Linked DNA regions of Homo sapiens: region 1 is linked to region 2. Evidence: promoter capture Hi-C in 16 types of primary human blood cells and fetal thymus (Javierre and others, 2016). All regions are on one chromosome and are shown on one strand. Each heading gives the region's core, a stretch centred on a gene start or on the middle of the fragment in contact. The rest is flanking DNA. Distances are from core to core; before and after follow the strand shown.

Region 1 (3,875 bases), core at 1,200-3,699, 520 kb before region 2:
AGATTCACCCACATTGTAGTGTGTTCAGTTCAGGAACTAAAATACTAAATCCCCAAAGACATGCAATTAGGCAGGACATATTGTATTATAACACAGACCCCTCTCTACTGCCTAATTAAGAACCCCTGAAAACTCATGTTATACTGTCACTTACTCTTCTTCATTGCCTGACTCACTGTCACTCCCAAACAGATCCTTCTCTTCATTTTTCTTATCAGACAATTCTTTCCCAGCTTCTTCCTCACTGTCAGATGCTATGGTCTTCTCTCTTTTGCCTGACTTGTCTGATACAGCATCACTGTCAGAGTCATCTGCATCAGAGACAACACGACTCTTCTTTGCTGCTGTTGAAAAAGAAAATCATCATTAATTTTATTTTATCACAGCCATTGTATTACTAAGCATAACAGGTGCTTTAAGATGGCAGTATACAGCAAAAATAAATAAATAAATAAATAAATAAATAAATAAATAAAATAAAATCAGAGGGCCTCCTGACACATGGTTTAGAATTTTTAAAATAACTAAATGGCTCATTCAGAGTCATCTTACAAATTATCTGTTATTTTGCTTAAGAAAAACTGGCCAAAAGATGAAGAAAGATATCATCAATATAAAAGCAGCCACCTTTCCTTTTGGGAAATCGAGAAAATTAAAACTAGATTGATGGGCAAAACTGGCATCCTTTCTATGTTGCCTAGTAGTAACTGAACTAAAAAGGACTACATATTTCTTTCTAGGAATAGTCTCCATGTTCCTCTATCATTGCTGGTCAGTTTGAAATTTCTCATCTCCCTTAACAAATTGACAGCATGTCTGGTACCTTTTCCTTCTCCTATAAGAACTGTGAGGTTATAATGAAATATGTCTTTTCCAAAAAAGATAAGTTTCATAAAAAAGTAGACAAGTAATACTATCTGTGCAAATGGAGTCTTAGATAGCAGAGACTGAAACACTCTGGAGAGAGATGGTGTCTCTAAATAGAATCCTCTCAAAGCTTCCCTGTATCTGAATATTCAACAATGTTTAACAAATGAAGAGATGTACCTGTGGGAGCTGTTACTGTTTGGATGGGATCTAGTGAACTAAGTGTCAAAGAGACCCACAGCTAACAATTAATACAGTTAGGGGTTTTTATGTAAACGTATTTCTTTGAAACATTACCTCTTCCAGTTTTAAAAAAAAAAAACAGTATTTTATATTCCTATTGACATGTGGTTTATCACTTTGAGGCAGTCAGAGATTAATATGTGCTAATAGAACTCCAAGGAAACTTACTATTAAGCTTAGCTAATGATAACCAGGGGAAATGAGTGTCCTACTGATATTTTAGAATATTAAGCTGAATAACAGAACACAGATCTGACATACCAAGAGGATACAATGTTCCACAGTTACAAGCTTAGACAATGAATAAAGCCATTGATAAACAGCCCAAGGTAACTCCTTACATGCTTTCTCTTCATCTTCACTATCAGAAAGCACAGCAGCTTTTCTCTTCGCTACTTTCTCCTCCTCACCCTCTTTTTCATCTTCATCACTGTCCATTTTTTGCTTTTTGTGTTCTTCCTCCTCACTATCAGAACTGTGAAACTTTTTTCTGTCCATATGGCTGTCTGAATGGAAGGAGTCATTCTGCATTTCTGTATCCTCTCCCTTATTCTCCCTGTCGCTGTCATCATCTGACTCTGGCTTCTGTTTGTGTCTGGACGCATCCTCAGTTTCTGAGTCACTGGCAGGCCCCTTCTGAGGCCCCTCACTCTCAGAGTCACTGACTCGGGGTTTGGGTAGCTCCTCATTTTCCGAATCACTGGCCTGGTTCCTTGGGGGATCCTCACTTTCCGAATCACTGATTCGGGGTTTGGGAAGCTCTTCATTTTCTGAGTCACTGGCCTGGTGCCTCGGAGGGTCCTCACTTTCTGAGTCACTGATACGAGGTTTGGGAAGCTCCTCATTTTCAGAGTCACTGGCCTGGTGCCTTGGGGGTTCCTCACTTTCTGAATCACTGACCTGAGGTTTAGGAAGCTCCTCACTTTCAGAATCACTCATTCGAGGTTTGGGAGGCTCCTCATTTTCGGAGTCACTGGCTTGGTGCCTTGGGGGTTCCTCACTCTCAGAGTCACTGATTTGAGGTTTTAGAGCATCTTCTGTTTCAGAGTCACTAGCAGGACTCTTCTGGAGCTCCTCAATCTCAGAATCACTGGCGGGATGCTTCCCAACATCTTCGTTTTCTGAGTCACTTGCATGCCCATTAAGAAGTTCCTCATTTTCAGAGTCACTACCAGGTAATTTCCTGGTCTCTTCACTCTCAGAGTCGCTCCCATGCTGATTGACATCCTCATTTTCAGAATCGCTTGCAGGAGGCTCTGCACGTTCCTCAGATTCAGAGTCGCTGTCCTTTTGCCTGTGAAGCTCCTCACTTTCAGAGTCACTAGCATTAAGATTTAAGGGCTCATCGTTCTCAGAGTCTGTCACATGATGTCCTTTGGGGAGGCCATCTTCTCGATCACTAGTTTCATTCTGAAAAATAAAGTGAGAAAAAATTAGGAAAGTGCAAAAAAAAAAAAACCATTAATAATAAAACATTAAATTTTTTCTGTGATTTTTTTAAAATACAGGATTATGTGCACCTAAATGGAGAATTCTTGTCCTATACCCATATAGAAACACCCCCACAGAAAGCCAATCAGTGAAATGGTTTTATTTGGATCCCCAAATGGGGAAATATAACCAGCCTTCATCAAAACAGATTTGTAAAGCATGCCCTCAGATTACTACAGAAAACTGACCGTGAAGAGCTAGATTTTTTCTTTTTTAAAAGGCGAATTTTCTCATACATACTTCTGTTTTGTAAAAATATAACTCTAGGCTGGACAAGGTGGCTCACACCTTTTGGGAGGCCGAGGTGGTGGATCACCTGAGGTCAGGAGTTCGAGACCAGCCCGGCCAACATGGTGAAACCCTGTCTCTATTAAAAATACAAAAATTAGCTGGGCGTGGTGGTGGACACCTGTAATCCCAGCTACTAGGGAGGCTGAGGCAGGAGAATCACTTGAACCTGGGAGGCGGAGGTTGCAGTGAGCTGAGATTGCACCATCGCACTCCAGCCTGGGTGACAGAGTGAGACTGTCAAAAATAAAAATAAATAAATAAAAATAAATAACTCTATTTTTCAAAGAAATACAAGCAAACATGTAACCAAGTTCTTTTACACAGGAACATTCTTGGGTTTTATAAGGTTAAGATTATTTAAGGGAAAAGAACTATAAAATTTAATTTTATTTAAAGGGTCAAATAACATATGGGCACCTTCTCCCAAGATAATTTAAGCAAACAAAGAAAGGAGAAGTTAACATTTCCTAAGTACCCACTAAGAGCCAATACCACAACAGGCTCTCTCCTGTTAGTTCATTTACTCCTCATAATGGTACTTCTCATGATAACAAAATTGAGGCTTACAGTAGTCACGGTCCTGTGTCTAGTAACCCTAGAAACAAGAAAGCTTAAGTTTTAGGGAGAACATGATTCATCTAACTATACCAACACATAATGTTACTTGAAATAATTACTCTGAAAACATGCCCTGGGGTACAAACTTGATATGTGCATATTATAGCTATGGCTTTAAAATGCAGAGAAAAATATACAAAATTAAACATGCCAAAATACTAACAAGTATTTTAGGATCCGGTGAATTTTTTCTCCCATCTGGTAGCTCAACTTTAAATAACATGGCAATAATATTCTAGCTTAAAAAGTGAAAGTATTTCCGTGTTTGAGTATACCCTCTTAAAAATTTACTGAGCCAAATATTTCTTGTTAGATATATGACTTAAGCTATGTGAACCTACCACAGACCAATTTTCAAGGACCAA
Region 2 (3,635 bases), core at 286-2,785:
TCCATAAATACTTGTGGATTGCTATGCTAAAAAAATCACCATTGAATCCTGTACAAGAGTCACATGACAGGTATTACCACAATGCATGTGTATTTCTCTGTGTAAAGTTTTATGGAAAATGGCATGTCTCTTTGAAACACTCAAATCTCACACCAAGGTGAACAGAACTGTGATTAGTATGTCATAGGAACATTCGGAGGAAGATATCCAGCCCTAAGAAAAGATCCGATATCTTACATCCAGACCCGATGCAAAAGGAATTCTCCAATGCTTTTCGGCAAAGGCCTCCATTTACGGATTTCCTTTTCCTTCTCTTCCACAGATCCCCTCACAGAGCCAGAGGACCCTACACCTTCTCCATCTTCCCTAAAATCGCCCCCCACTTTTCCCTCAGGAGCCAAGCGATCTCCCGATTCGCCCGCAACCCCACCCCACCGCGAAGCCCCCGCTGAGACCGGAGGACGCCGGTTTCCAGACACCTCGGAGTGTGAGACCCCCGTCTCCGGGGTGGGGGTGCGGACGGGCGATCTGGGGACCCGACCACAAGACGAGCACTGTGCCTCTTTACCTGTAGCCGCCGCCCGCCGCCCGCACCGCCCGCTTCTATCTCGCCGGCCTGGGGGTGCCGCGGAGGGCCCATCTCGGCGGCGGCGATGTGCTCGGCGGGCGCGGGGAGGGATCGCGGCGGCGGCGCCCGGGGCCCGCTGCTGTCCAGCCCCGCTGGCCCCACTCACCCCCGCCACCCGGCCGCCGCTGTGCTCGCAGTCCTCTTCCCCCGAACCTGCCCCTGCCTCCCCCGCCCGCCCATTGGCCCCACGCCCGACGCGTCAGTGGAGGCCCAGGACCAATCCACAGCGACCTGCACGTTCAGAGCCCGCCCCACCCTCCCGCCGACTGCCAGCCAATCAGGCGCGAGCCTGGCCGGGGCAGCCCAAACCCCTCGAGGCTGAGCCAATGGCAGAGGAAGACAGGCGCCCCCGGCGAAGGGGGCGGGGAGCGGGGAGGCCCCGCCTCAGCCAGGGTCTGAAAGCGGCGGGCGCAGGGCCCGGATGTGGAGAGTCACTTTAAACTGCTCCAGGAGCCAAACTCCCTGGGCCGGCCGCCCGCCCGCCCGCCCGCCCGCGCTCCCCCGGCCGCTCTGCTTCCCCGCCAAGGCCCACGTCCGCCACGCCCCCACGCCCGGGTCAGCCCACCCCTCCCGGTGCCTCTCCCTTCCTCGCCACAGGACACCCAGCCCCTGTCGCCGGCCCAACCGCCGTGACCAGCTCGCGAAAGAGCCGCGGTCCGAGCCGCAGGAGACGAGGATCCTCTGCCCTTCCCCGGGGACGCGCAACGGGACGGACGCTGCAGCCCGGCTCAGCCGCCCCGCCCCCTCGTCTCCTCCCCTTCCCTCCCGGGCGCCCGTCCCGCCATTACCTGGGTGCTGCGCCCAGTGGCCGCCGCGCCGCCTTGAGCTCGCTCCCGCGCGCTCTCCGTCTGTGGGGCCGACGTCCCCAGGCTCCGGACCCGCAGCCACCGCCGGGGAGCTAGCACTCTGCCCCCCACCCCTCACTCCAGCGCCGCTGCTTCCGCCGCCGTAACGAGCCTCCCGTCTATTGGCTGGCGCAGGCCCCGCCCCCTGCCGAGTCAGCCAGTCGCCGGTGGTCGTGAGCGGGAGAGCGGACGGGCCCGCCCCTCTGAGCCGCGGCGTCCTGTGGGAAATGTAGTCGCCGGAGTCAGGAGGGCGGGCCGCGAAGGAGGTGGAGAGCGCCGGGGCGGGGCCGCAGGCGACCCGGCCAGGGCAACACACCCCTTTGCTGTCTGAAGTCGGTTCTGCCTTTTCTCTTGGCTAAGTGAGAAGACAGTGGATCCCACCCTATGCCTTAACCTGAGGGCACTGGGTTTCATTTTCCCCGCGGGGAGGCGCGGCGCGGGAAAGGGTAATGGAGGCCAACTGCGGCGGCCAAGGGATCCGCGGGCCGGGCCAGTGTCGTGACGGTGCCCGCCTCCCTATGCCGCGAGTGGGACTCGGTGTCCCCACCGGGAACCGCGGTCGGCACAGCCTACGCGCGGCGGGAGCCGCCAGGCGCAGCGCGGGCGCGGCTCTGTGAAAGCAGGCCGGCAGGGCGCAGGGCTCTGGGCGGCCGGGGCGCACCTGCGCGCGCTTTCCGGATTATAAAGGAGCTGAAGGGGGCAGTTTTATTTTGTCATTTTGCTTGGGGTTCAGGGTTGGAGTTTATGCACCTGTAGAAGACTTAGCCATATCTTTTGAGGCCACATTTGTGTCTGATAAGAGATTAAGTCTCCCTCTTCCCTTACCAGATGGTAATTTAGGCCTGGAGTTTTGTGATTAGTTAGGAAATAAATGGGGCTCAAACCCCCCTCTTCCTATCATGCACAGCTGTGTAAGACAACTGCTTGGTTAGAAGAGAGTAGCTCCTGGCTATAGCCCAGGGATGAGTCTCAGATACTCCTCCTCTTCAAGCCACTTTCCTTTTCCACCTTCATGCCTTCATTCTCAAACTTCTAAAGAGTGACTCCTGTGATAGACTTCAGCCTCCTCTCTGCCTAGGCAGTCCTTATCCCTTTTGGAGTTGCCACTCTTCTCAGACTGCTCCCCAAAAGTTGCCAACACCTACTCAACTTCAAACCCATCGGTCCTCACTTAGATCTCATCTTGTTTAGCTTACTGACCAGTAGTAATTCCTCCTCATGTCTTCCCTTGGCCTCTAGAACCAGGCTGTCTCCTGCTTCTACTCCTATGTCAAGCTCCATTATACCTCCTCTTTCTCATAAATACAGCATTCTTCAGGGCTCCAACACGCTAATGCTATACTGCCTTCCTAAATGGTTTAATGTATTTCCACAGTTTCAAATGTCATCCTTTTTGTTTTTTGTTTTTTTGAGACAGGTTCTCAGTTCAGCCCAAGCTGAAGTCCAGTGGCGTGATCACAGCTCATTGCAGCCTCGACTTCCTTGTCTCAACTAACTTATTGCCTCAGCCTCCTGAGTAGCCAGGACTGCAGGCGCATGCCACCACACCCCACTAAACATATATATATGCCAGGCACGTGGCTCATGCCTGTAATCCCAGCACTTTGGGAGGCCGAGGCAGGCGAATCACCTGAGGTCAGGAGTTCGAGACCAGCCTGACCAACATGGGAAAGACCCCATCTCTACTAAAGATACAAAATTAGCCGGGAATGGTGGCAAATTCCTGTAATCCCAGCTACTCAGGAGGCTAAGGCAGGAAAATTGCTTGAACCCGGGAGGCAGAAGTTGCTGTGAGCCCAGATCAAGCCATTGCACTCCAGCCTGGGCAACAAGAGCGAAACTCTGTCTCAAAAATATATATTTATATATGAATACATATATTTTATATATATAATATATATTTTTGAGATGGAGTTGTATGTATATATATGTATATATGTATATATATGTATATATACGTGTGTGTGTGTGTGTGTGTGTGTGTGTGTATATATATATTTTTTTTTTTTTGAATAGAGACAGGGTTCCACCATATGCCCAGGCTGGTCTTGAACTCCTGGGCTTAAGCGATCTGCCCACCTCAGCCTCCCAATGTGCTGGCATTATAGGCATGAGCCACTACACCCAGCCTCAAATATCTTTGAAAATGTTACCTATGCATA

Evidence for each region. The method cuts DNA at HindIII sites, captures the fragments that hold promoters and counts their contacts. A CHiCAGO score of 5 or more calls a contact.
Region 1: a fragment that was not itself captured here is called in contact with the fragment with the promoter of SAP130 in region 2 in 1 of 17 cell types (total CD4 T cells); the score reaches 6.3 in total CD4 T cells.

The regions. Positions count from the first base shown.
Region 1 is chr2:127,503,233-127,507,107 of GRCh38, forward strand. IWS1 (interacts with SUPT6H, CTD assembly factor 1) reads right to left here. Exons shown (of 14, transcript NM_017969.3): 3 at 1,452-2,520; 4 at 155-344. Among named protein-coding and RNA genes, the nearest start is that of IWS1, 21 kb to the right of the region's middle. The HindIII fragment of the contact is 2,101 bases long and covers 1,400-3,500 here.
Region 2 is chr2:128,026,524-128,030,158 of GRCh38, forward strand. SAP130 (Sin3A associated protein 130) reads right to left here and starts at 1,536. Exons shown (of 21, transcript NM_001330301.2): 1 at 1,417-1,536. RefSeq lists silencers at 514-803, 864-1,203, 1,304-1,823, 2,074-2,223. The HindIII fragment of the contact is 20,582 bases long and covers 1-3,635 here.